Regions from separate parts of the Homo sapiens genome. Here region 1 is linked to region 2. The links are contacts of gene promoters, found by promoter capture Hi-C in human tissues and cell types (Jung and others, 2019). All regions are on one chromosome and are shown on one strand. The core of a region is centred on a gene start or on the middle of the fragment in contact, and the rest is flanking DNA. Distances in the headings are between cores, read along the strand shown. Region 1 overlaps MRTFA (myocardin related transcription factor A). Region 2 holds the start of L3MBTL2 (L3MBTL histone methyl-lysine binding protein 2).

Region 1 (5,868 bases), core at 1,254-3,753, 580 kb before region 2:
CTAAGATTTACTCGTTTTTTTTGAGATGAGGTCTGGCTCTGTCACCCAGGCTGGAGTGCAGTGGCGCAACTACAGCTCACTGCAACCTTCACCTCCCAAGCTCAAGCAATTCTCTCCCACGCCTCAAGTTTCCAGAGTAGCTGGGATTATCGGTGCACAGCGCCGCGCCCGGTTATTTTTTGTATTTTTTGTAGAGACGGGGTTTTGCCATGTTATCTAGGCTGGTCTTGAACCTCTAAGCTCAAGCAATCCTCCCAAAGTACTGGAATTACAGGCGTGAGCCACCACGCCCAGCCAACCCTTACTTTTAATTTCTAAATTTCTCTTGCTCTACATTTTAAAGGAAAGACAATATATACACATATATATGGCAAACTCAAAAAGACTACTTTAAATATATCCATCATATAACTAAATACGAAACACAAAGCCAGGGCCAGGCATAGTGGCTCATGCCTGTAGTCCCAACACTTTGAGAGTTCAAGGCGGGAGAACTGCTTGAGGCCAGGGGTTCAAGGTTACAGTGAGCTACGATCGTGCCACTGCGATCCAGCCTGTGTATCAGAATGAGACCCTGTCTCAAACACACACACACACACACACACACACACACACACTAACTAAAGCCAAAGTTTCAACCATGATAACACCACTCTAACACCAAAATTCAACACAGTGCATTCTAAAATATTAGGAAAGGACAACTTTCCAAGTTCCTGTAAATTTTGTGGTAGAGAAAATATGTACAAATTAACCACAATCAAGAGACCCTGGATCACTTACCCCATTTACAATTTAAAAGATACTGAAACACTGACAAAAAAAAAAATTCTAAAAATGTGGATATTACAGTATGCCTTTATTTGGTAATTTTTTTGTTTCTGAGACAGTCTCACTCTGTTGCCCAGGCTGGAGTGCAGTGGCACAAACACAGCTCACTGCAGCCTCGATCTCCCGGGCTCATGCACTACAAGTGCATGTCACCATGCTGAGCTACTTTTTTTACTTCTTGTAGACACACGGTCTTGTCATGTTGCCCAGGCTGGTCTTGAACTCCTGGGCTCAAGTGATCCTCCCACCTTGTCCTCCCAAAGTGCTGGGATTACAGGTGTAAGCCATAATGCCTGGCCCTTATTTGGCAAGTATTAATTGAGCAACTTAAGATGTGAGGTTACTATTATAGTTTTCCACCTCAGGAATGGCAACCAGATACATATAATGAATACCGCACAGAATATTTTCTGAGCTATAACATCTTGATTACTACTACAAAGAGTTCTCACTATAACTGACATTTTCGCTAACTATGCAAAAGACACTGAACACGAAAAGACATTTACTAGAGGCAAAGTTAGGAACTTCATATACATCATGGTAGGAAGCCAGAATTATTTAATTCAAAAACAGATCTGGATTCAAATCCTGGCCAGGCACAGCGGCTCATGCCTGTCATCTCAACAGTTTAGGAGGTCAAAGCGTGAGGGCAAGAGTTCAAGATCAGCCTGGGGAACACTGTGACACCCCGCCTGCACAAAAAAATTTAGCCGGGCATGATGGCACACGCCTATAGTCCTAGTTATGCAGGAGAACTGCTTCAGCAGTTTGAGGTTACAGGAGTTTGAGGACACAGTGAGCTATGACCCTGCCACTACACTCATGTCTGGAAGACAAAGCAAGACTCTGTCTAAAAAAAACAAAAAAGCAAAACAACAACAAAAATCCTGTTATCTAGAAGTTCCTCTAGAAGCTTCTCTTTGCTCATCTGCAAAATGCTGCTACTACCACTTATTTCAGAGTTCATATGAGGATTAATAAGGTAGCACAATGTCTACTATAAAGTAGATGCCCCTATTACTTCCCTCTTTACATTTCTTCATAATCCTTATAACGACCTCATGTTGTAAGGATTATTAACTCTAGTTTACAGATGAAGAAGCTGAATCACAGGAAGGTTAAGGAGTAAGCCTACAGTCACATACCTGGTAACTGTCAGTACCCAGATCTGCTGTGCCCTAAAACTTGACATGGACATGTTACCTCACTGGATATTTTACTCTGTCATATTATGAAGTTCAGAACTTTGTTTGAATTATGCCCATTATGCTTTAAATTTTAATACAAGAACAATTATTTTCAAAAACCAGAATCACCCATAATTTCCACTCATAATTTTAGAGGACAAAGACCTGTAAATAGCCTACCTATCTAGAAATTCAGTAACAGAGGACACACTCCAGATCTCAAAATGAACTAGCCAAATTACTCATTACAAGCTCTCATTTACACAGAGAATGATTTCTAAATGCATATCAATAAGAATGAGTGGGGAGCAAATGAACCAAACATACCACAGAAGTAAAAATGTGGAAGTAAAAAAAAAAAAAGACATTTTCACAACGCTCTTTCTTCCAAGGATTCTACAGATCTTCTATTACTGCTATATGAGCCGGCCTTAAATACTGTGTGAGGAACTGGCCTGGGCTCAGCCCCTGGACTGTTGTGGAACTCAAATCATTTAATTTCACAGTGCCTCCTCCCACTAAACAATGAGAGAACTGGACTTGAGTCATGAACCACAGAACTGAAGGCAACTTGAGCAATTAGTTCCACCCAATGCACCCTGACAGGTCACCCAATTTCTGCTTTAACACCTGCAGTGACACAGAGTGTAATTATCTTCTCTCCTCATACATGTGATATGGATTCAGTATTTTTAAGAATTTTGGCCAGGCACGGTGGCTCACACCTGTAATCCCAACACTTCGGGAGGCCAAGGCAGGAGGATTGCTGTGGCCAGGAATTTGAGACTAGTCTAGGCAATATAGCAAGACTCTCTTCTCTTCTCTACAAAAAAAATTTTTTAAATTAGCCAAGCAGAGGCTGGGCGCGGTGGCTCACATGTGTAATCCCAGCACTTTGGGAGGCCGAGGCGGGCGGATCACTTGAAGTCAGGAGTTTGAGACCAGCCTGTCCAATATGGTGAAACCCCGTCTCTACCAAAAATACAAAAAAATTAGCCGGGCATGGTGGCACATGCCTGTAGTCCCAGCTACCTGGGAGGCTGAGGCAGGAGAATGGCTTGAACCCGGGAGACGGAGGTTGCAGTGAGCCAAGATCGAACCACTGCACTCCAGCCTGGTCAACAGAGCAAGACTCCGTCTCAAAACATAATTAAAAAAAAAAAAATTACCCAAGCAGGCCAGGCACAGTGGCTCACGCTGTAATCCCAATACTTTGGGAGGCCGAGGCGGATGGATCGCCTGAGGTCAGGAGTTCGAGATCAGCCTGGCCAACATAGTGAAACTCCGTCCCTACTAAAAAAAATATATACATATACAAAAAATTAGCTGGGCGTGGTGGTGGGTGCCTATAATCCCAGCTACTCGGGAGGCTAAGGCAGGAGAATTGCTTGAACCCAGGATGCGGAGCTTGCAGTGAGCCGAGATCCCGCCACTGCACTCCAGCCTGGGTGACAGAGCAAGATTCCATCTCAAAAAAAAAAAAAAAAAAAAAAAAATTAGCCAAGCATGGTGGTACATGCTGTTGTCCTAGCTACTCAGGAGGCAGAGGCAGAAGGATCACTTAAGACAAGGAGTTTTGAGGTTGCAGTGAGCTATGATCCCACCATATGCTTCACAAGAGCTTAGAGGTGGAACTAGGGCCCACACTAATACCTAGAATGAGAACCTGTGTGGCTGAGTTTGAGGGACAAGGTTAATCTGGAGGGCATTTAAAAGGTACAGGACTGGCCAAGCACGGTGGCTCATGCTTATCATCCTAGCGCTTTGGGAGGCCAAGGCAGGCGGATCACCTGAGGTCAGGAGTTTGAGACCAGCCTGGCCAACATATAGTGAAACCCTGCCTCTACTAAAAAATACAAAAATTAGCTGGGCATGGTGGCACATACCTGTAATCCCAGCTACTTGGGAAGCTGAGGCAGGAGAATCGCTTGAACCTGGGAGGCGGCAGTTGCAGTGAGCCATGATCACACCACTGTGCTCTACCCTAGGCAAGAGAACGAGACTCTGTCTCTCAAAAAATAAAAATAAAAAAATAAAAGGTACAGGCCTGGGTGTGGTAGCTGGATGACAGAGTGAGACTCTGTCTCTTTAAAAACAAAACAAAAGAAACAAACAAAAAAACACCTGGGCAGTTTTTAAGTCAACAGAATCGTTTTTCTGTTGTACAAAATCAGAGATTTCAGACTTCAACTTGGAGAAAGCTGAATCCATTTCTATTTCCTTTCCTTTCGACGTAACAAATCTACTTCCTAAAGTAGTAAAATGGAAGTCATCTTCATTAGGAAGATCACTACTGCCTCTAAAGAGTTTATCTAAACTGATGCAGTTTCACAAAATCCGTCCTTTGAATTCCTAAACTTCTATACTCCAGATTTAGAAGTTTCTTATAATTAACTTTCTAATTTATTTATTTACTTGAGACAGTGTCTCATCTGTTAACCAGGCTGGAGCACAGTGGTGTGATCACAGCTCATTGCAGCCTCAAACTCCTGGGCTCAAGCAATCCTCCTGTCTCAGCCTCTCACATGGCTGGGATTATAGGCATGAGCCACAGTACCAGGCCTATACCTTTGAAATTCCCTCCAGGTTAACCTTGTCCCTCAAACTCAGCCACACAGGTTCTCATTCTAGGTATTTTTATTATGGGCCCTAGCTCTTGTGAAGCACATGCTCTTTTAAGTACTGCTTCCAGCTAAACCCATTCTACAGACAGAGAGCCCAGTAAATTCAAAGATACAAGATGGTAAGAGACACCCTTAATGGCAACTTGTGCACCTCCTTGGGTCTTATTTTAACTGTGGAATTCACCTAAATAAAGCCACTGGTTCACTCTACTTTGTAAAATAAAAATTATCTAGATGTAGGTACTTGACATAGAAAAATTGATGGTGAAGCAGCAATGGTTAACATTTAAATGCCTCCTTCTGCATACTCATATCAGTCTATATTCATTCATCTCTCTGACTCCAAACTAATTCACCCAGTCAGTTCTACGCTACTGCCCAAAACCAATGATGATCATAATAACCATGATAATGACATGCATGTAAAGCTGTTCCAAGGACTTTATATATTTTTATTTAATCCTCACAGCAACAATATGAAGCAGGCCCCATTTTTATCCCCATTTTACAGCTAGTGAGTCACAGAGAATATAAAGTAGCAAGAGTATCATAGTCACACAGTCCAAGTTCATACACACGGCCGGCAAGTAGAGCCAGGATTCCGATCTATGCAGTATGACTCTAGTATTTATGTTAACTACTTATGCTGTGTAACTGCTCATCTATCACTAAGTTACTGTTTTCATCAATATAAAAAAAAATGACTCCACCTTCACCATACACATAGATTTCAAATATTTTTCCTTATGTCAACACTGGCCTAAATTACTTAAAACATTTCATGTGAACCTAATTTAGTGTCTACCTCCACATATTAGCCTCCATGTGAAAGGTACATAGTAAACACACAATAAATATTTATAAATATCTGATAAAGGAATTAAATTTTTCCCATTCCTTCATTCCTCCAAAGGTAATCTTTCCTACTCTGAGTCCTCCCCTCTCCCCTACTTCAGAACTTCAGTACCTTCTTTTCAACATTTTCTACTTTACCCACTGTCGTGGCCAGCCTCCAAGATGGCCCCCAATGACCCTCACCTCCTGCCATTTACATTCTTGTGTAGTCCCTTCCCACAATGTGTGGCCAACAGAATACTGGAAAAATGATGGTATGTGACTTCTGAAGCTAGGTCATAAAAGTCAATGCAGCAGCTTGGTCTTTTGTATTACATGCTCTGAGGCAAGCTGGCTGCCATGCCATGAAGGCATTCATGCGGAGAGGC
Region 2 (6,333 bases), core at 2,667-5,166:
GTTGAAACATCTTATTAAGCACAGGTTGCTAAGCAATAGTGGCCGCCCCAGAACAGTAACAGTGTGGCAGTTCCTTCTGCTATGGAGCTCCTGGGCAGGGGTTTCATCCTGCAGCAAAGGTACCCTTTTTGGCTGGACTAATTCATCCCTCTACATGTGGACCTAATACGCTCCTCTCTTTTAAGGCCCTCCCTCTGTGCATCACTGTCCCTCTGTCTGGGATCATTGATCTGTCTCTCTCTACTAGATCACTCCCAATAGCAACACAAACGTGCTCTTCTGTTCCAAACTATGTACATAAATCCCTTAAACTCACCTCTTCTGCTCTATGCCCTGCCATTGTGCTATTCCACCCAGACAACTTTTTTGTTGTTGTTGGTTTTTGTTTGTTTGTTTGTTTTTTGAGAGAAAATCTTGCTCTGTCGCCCAGGCTGGAGTACAGTGGCATAATCTCGGCTCACTGCATCCTCCACCGCCCTGATTCAAGCAATTCTCCGGTCTCAGCCTCCCGAGTAGCTGAGACTACAGGCGCATGTCACCACACCCGGCTAATTTTTGTAGTTTTAGCACAGATGGGGTTTCACCATATTGGTCAGGCTGGTCTCGAACTCCTGACCTCAGGTGATCCACCTGCCTCAGCCTTCCAAAGTCCTTGGATTACAGGCATGAGCCACTGTGCCCGGCCAATATTTTTCTATTTTTAGTAGAGATGGGGTTTCACCATGTTAGCTAGGCTGGTCTCAAACTCCTGACCTCAAGTGATCCACCCACCTCAGCCTCCCAAGTAGCTGGGACTATACGCTTGTGCCACCACACCAGGCTAATATTTTGTAATTTTTTTTAATTGACACAGGGTTTTCACCATGTTGGCCAGGGTGGTCTAGAATTCCTTTTTTGTTTTTTTTCCAAGCTGGAGTGCAATGGCGCGATCTCAGCTCACTGCAACTTCCGCCTCCTAGGTTCAAGCGATTCTCCTGCCTCAGCCTCCGGAGTTGCTGGGATTACAGGCATGCCTCACCAAGCCCGGCTAATTTTTGTATTTTTAGTAAAGATGGGGTTTCACCATGTCGGCCAGGCTGGTCTTGAACTCCTGACCTCAGGTGATCCGCCCACCTTGGCCTCCCAAAGTCCTGGGATTACAGGCGTGAGCCACCGCGTCTGGCAGAACTCCTGATATCAAGTTATCCACCTGCCTCAGCGTCCCAAAGTGCTGGGATTACAGGTGTGAGCCACCATGCCCAGCCAGACAACTTTTTTTTTTCTCTGTCACCAGGGTAGAGTGCAGTGGCATGAACATGGTTCACTGTAGCCTCAACCTCCTGGGCTCAAGCAATCCTCCCTCCTCAGCCTCCAGAGTATCTGGGACCACAGGTACATGCCACTACACTTAGCTAATTTTAAAAAATTTTTAGCTGGGCACAGTGGCTCAGGCCTGTGATCCCAGCACTTTGGGAGGCCAAGGCAGGCGGATCACGAGGTCAGGCGATCAAGACCATTTGCCCAGGTGGGCGAATCACCTGAGGTCGGGAGTTCGAGACCAGCCTGACCAACATGGAGAAACCCCATCTCTACTAAAAATACAAAAAAAAAAAAAAAAAATTAGCCAGGTGTGGTGGTGCATGCCTGTAATCCTAGCTACTTGGGAGGCTGAGGCAGGAGAATTGCCTGAACCTGGGAGGCAGAGGTTGTGATGAGCCGAGATCGCGCCATTGCACTCAAGCCTGGGCAACAAGAGTGAAACTCTGTCTCAAAAACAAACAAACAAAAAAACTCTAATGCCGTTCCCTTGCACAGAATAAAATCCAAGCACTCCACAAGACCCTGAATGACCTGGTCTCAGCTTTCTCTCAAACCTCATCTTGTATCACCCTCTCCATGTTTTGCTATATCCATCTACTCTCTCTGTCTTTCTGTTTATTGCATACCAAGCTTGAGTTGGCCCCAGGACCTTTGCACTTGCTGTTCCACCAATGTGGCCTTTGCACTTGCTGAACCAACCTGTCTTTTTCTTTTTTTTTCACCACTATCTTATTCCAGAACATTTATTTTTATTTTTATTTTTTGAGATGGAGTCTTGCTCTGTTGCCCAGGCTGGAGTGTAGTGGTGCAATCTCGGCTCACTGCAACCTCTGACTCCCTTGTTCAAGCGATTCTCCTGCCTTAGCCTCCCAAGTAGCTGGGATTACAGGCACCCGTCATCACACCCAGCTAATAGTTGTATTTTTAGTAGAGATAGGGTTTCATCATCTTGGCCAGGCTGGTCTCGATCTCCTGACCTTGTGATCTGTCCATCTTGGCCTCCCAAAGTGCTGGGATTACAGGCGTGATCCACTGCACCCGGCCAGGTCAATGAGTTTTAAAGATCACCTGTGTGTATTAAAGGTGAAGATTTAAAAAGGGTGACCACAGGAGGTGGAGGTTGCAGTGAGTGGAGATCCCACTGCATTCCAGCCTGGGCGACAGGGGAGACTCCATCTCAATCAATCAATCAATCAATAAAAGAAAGAAAGAAAGGGTGACCAGTTGAAGGGCTGCTGCAATGGGCCGGTGGCTTGTATTAGAGTGGTAGTGGTGGAGGAAATACAGGATATATTTTGGAGGTAGAAAAACCAACACGTTGACAGCATGGATACAGGGGTTTAGGGTGGAAGGGGTTGAAGGAAAGAAAGACCTCTAGGAAGAGTTTGACATCTCCACGGCGGACTTCAAATTTAGGCATATATTTTATATGTATTCAGCCTCCACATATTGCATTTAGAGTCTCAATTAATTCACTGGGACACGGCATGGCATAGGGAAGGAATCTGTACTAAATTTGGAATCCCAATCCTGTGTGATCTTGGAAAGTGCCTAAACCTGAAGTGGTGAAGAGCCACCACTTCCTCTTCTTTCAAACGGTGATAGGATGTCTAAGGGTTTGAAAAGATGTTTGCAAAGCTCCACAACAGCACCTAGAACTCAGGGTGTCTAAGGAGGTTGTGGGAAACCCTAACGGGATGAGGCAGAGAGCCTCAGATTCGAGGTTTTTACCCAGGAGAGAGTGGTGAAGGAGGAATGTTGTAAGATTTTGAGCAGGCTGGACATTTACAGTATTGAGAAAAAGAATATTCCAGTTTCAGCCGGGCGCGGTGGTTCACGCCTGTAATCCCAGCACTTTGGGAGGCCGAGGCGGGTGGATCCCGAGGTCAGGAGTTCAAGACCAGCCTGGTGAAACCCCGTCTCTACTAAAAAATACAAAAATTAGCCGGGCTTGGTGGTGGGCGCCTGTAGTCCCAGTTACTTGGGAGGCTGAGGCAGGAGAATCGCTTGAACCTGGCAGGCGTAGGTTGCAGTGAACCGAGATCGCGCCACGGCACTCCAGCCTGGGCGACAGGGCAAGACTTCGTCTCAAGAAAACACACACACACACACACACACACACACACACACACACACACACACACACAGAGTATTCCAGTTTCTTCCTTTTTTTTTTCTTTTTAATCTGGAGTAGTCCAGTTTCTGCCTGAGTTGGAAATGAGTCCCTCTGCTATGCATCCCAGCAAAAGGGCACCTTAAATATCTAACCCGGGAGAGTACGAGGTTATTCCTGGAGTCTGGAACAGTGACTATCATAGGTGCTCAATAACCGTTTAGGGAAGAATAACATCCAGTGAAGTCAAGAGGTTGGCGTAATTGGAACACTCGGCGTGAGGCGCACCAGGTTTCCAGCGCCCCTGGTTTCCACGTCGCTATGGTAACGACTCACCCTGCACACATGCGAACTACAATTCCCATAACCGCCCGCGGCTTCCCCGCCCACAGGGAGAGAATGGCGGGAGCAGGCACGGAACCGGCTTTTCCTCCTTCCTGCAGCGTGATTGGCCCGCGGCTCAGGGAGGCGACCAATGAGTGCTCTCGCGGAGAGCGACGGGGCAGGCCAATATGGCTTCCTGCACCTGGTGACGCTTGGCGAAACTGAGGTCTCATGGAGAAGCCCCGGAGTATTGAGGTGAGAAGGCGAGGACTTAGCGTGACTGGGAAAGGGAACTCCGAGAGCCTCGCTCCGTGGGCCCTTCTTTAGGGCTTTTAGCGACGCCTGGAGGGTGGAGGGTGGGAGGATGGATAAACTGAGGTAGTTAAACTGAGCCAGGGGCAGAGGCAATTGACGTTACTTTTTGCCCCTCTCCTGCTGGGGCCAACGTTCGGCGAGGAGTTCAGGGAGGAACAGCCGTCCCTGGCCTGGGGGAAAGGGAACTAGGTTTAGGATCTGAGAGCTCCTGAATCTTCCTTATCCTGCTTGTCTCGTGGCTGTGTTGTTTAGGGCTTGTGAGGCCTGTTACATGAGGTGGGAAGTGAAGGGAGATTAAAGTTGGGTGAACATCACTCCTTGTCTGTAACGTTCACGTGCATTATCTTCCAGTACACTCACAGCAATCATGTATTATTCTTTCGTCTTTGTCGTTCAAGCCACTGAGGCTTAGAGGTGGTGCGACACCCCAGGAAGTTACCCCGGCTGGAAAGTGAAGGAGATTGGCACTAAGTCTGTCCGCCTCTGAAACTTTGCCTGTTATGCTTTTCACACTGTACTGCAACCTGGAACCCACTCATCCTTTTTTTTTTTTCTTTCAGACGGAGTCTTGCTCTGTCACCTAGGCTGGAGTGCAGTGGCGCGATCTCGGCTCACTGCAACCTCCGTCTCCCGGGTTCAAGCAATTCTGTCTCCATCTCCCATGTTCCTGGGATTACAGGCATGTGTCACCACACCCGGCTAATTTTTGTATTTTTAGTAGAGACGAGGTTTTGCCATGTTGGTCGGATTGGTCTCGAACTCCTGACCTCAGGTGATCTGTCTGCTTCACCTCGGCCTCCCAAAGTGCTGGGATTACAGGCATGAGCCACTGCACCCCGCCTCATCCTTTAATCATTTGGTTTCTGGGCACCTTATATTTAAGAGACGGGGTGTTCCTATGTTGCCCTGGCTGGAATGCAGTGGTTACTCACAGGCGTGATGACAACGCACTGCAGCCTCTAACTCTTGGGCTCAAGCAATCCTTACACCTCAGCCTCCTAAGTAGCTGGGACTATAGGTGGTCTCTGTCACCCTGCCTGACAAGGGTACCTATATTTGAATTGTTTCCTTGCTGGGTGCGGTGGCTCACGCCTGTAATCCCAGCACTTTGGGAGGCCGAGGCGGGCAGATCACGAGGTCAGGAGATCGAGACCATCCTGGCTAACATGGTGAAACCCCATCTCTACTAAAAATACAAAAAAATTAGCCGGGCGTGGTGGCAGGCACCTGTAGTCCCAGCTACTCGGGAGGCTGAGGCGGGAGAATGGCGTGAACGTGGGAGGCGGAGCTTGCAGTGAGCCGAGATCGGGCCACTGCACCACTGCACTCCAGCCTGGACGACAGAGCGAGACTGTGTCTCAAAAAAAAAAAAAAATTGCTTCCTTTCTAGCATATTTGCATGTGTAGTTGCAAATATAAGGTGGAATAGCTCAAACTTTCTGCAAGGGTAAACGAGAATAATCATGTGGAGAATAAGAATAGCAAGTCACACTTTTAGAGCTGTTACTGACTGCTGGAAATAGAACTAGGTTTTACATATCTTATCTCAATCTTCGTAAGAATTCTCTAAAGAAAGCTTATTACCTCTCTTGTAATGATGACAGCAGCAAGATAAAATACGCACAAAATCACACAGTTAATAAATGTTAGAGCCAGGATTCAAACTCAGGCAAATCAGAGCCTATGCTTTCAACCAGTAAAAATTGGCAACCTTTATTGAGCACTTACTATATGCAAGTCACTATTCTGAGAGCTTTGCCTGTATCGTCTCTTACTTCTCCCCCAAATCCTTTTTTTTTTTTTTTTTTTTTTTTTGAAACAGGGTTGCTCTCTGTCACCCAGGCTGGAGTGCAGTGGTGCAGTCATAGCTAACTGCAGCCTTGACCTCCCTGGCTCAAGAGTTCCTCCCACCTCAGCCTCCCTAACCAAAACACCCAGCTAATTTTTTCCATTTTTTATAGAGACAGGGTTTCCCTATGTTGCCCAGTCTGGTCTTGAACTCCTAGGCTCAAGCAATCCTCCTGTCTCGGCCTCCCAAAGTGCTGGGATTACAGGCATGAGCCACCATGGCCAGCCCCCAAACCCTATGAAATAGGTGGTACTATCCTCATTGTACAGATGTGGAAACTGAAGCACTGCAAAATTGACTTGCTGCAGGTCATACAGCGAGTAAGCACTAGAGATATTTGAGCTCTGGACCAGAGGCCAAACTTTTCTCCTTTCTTCACACCTTTTTTTTCCTTTGAGACAGTGTCTTCCCTCTGTCATCCAGGCTGGAGTGC

The links. Contacts are between HindIII fragments. The study calls those that stand out against the background at their distance.
Region 1: a fragment that was not itself captured here is called in contact with the fragment with the promoter of L3MBTL2 in region 2 in 1 of the 25 tissues and cell types used here (hippocampus).

The regions. Positions count from the first base shown.
Region 1 is chr22:40,626,284-40,632,151 of GRCh38, forward strand. All of the region lies in intron 1 of MRTFA (myocardin related transcription factor A), which reads right to left. Among named protein-coding and RNA genes, the nearest start is that of MRTFA, 7.5 kb to the right of the region's middle. The HindIII fragment of the contact is 9,289 bases long and covers 1-5,868 here.
Region 2 is chr22:41,201,396-41,207,728 of GRCh38, forward strand. It overlaps L3MBTL2 (L3MBTL histone methyl-lysine binding protein 2), which reads left to right and starts at 3,917. Exons shown (of 17, transcript NM_031488.5): 1 at 3,917-3,991. The coding sequence starts at 3,968. RefSeq lists an enhancer at 4,761-5,261. The HindIII fragment of the contact is 28,306 bases long and covers 3,779-6,333 here.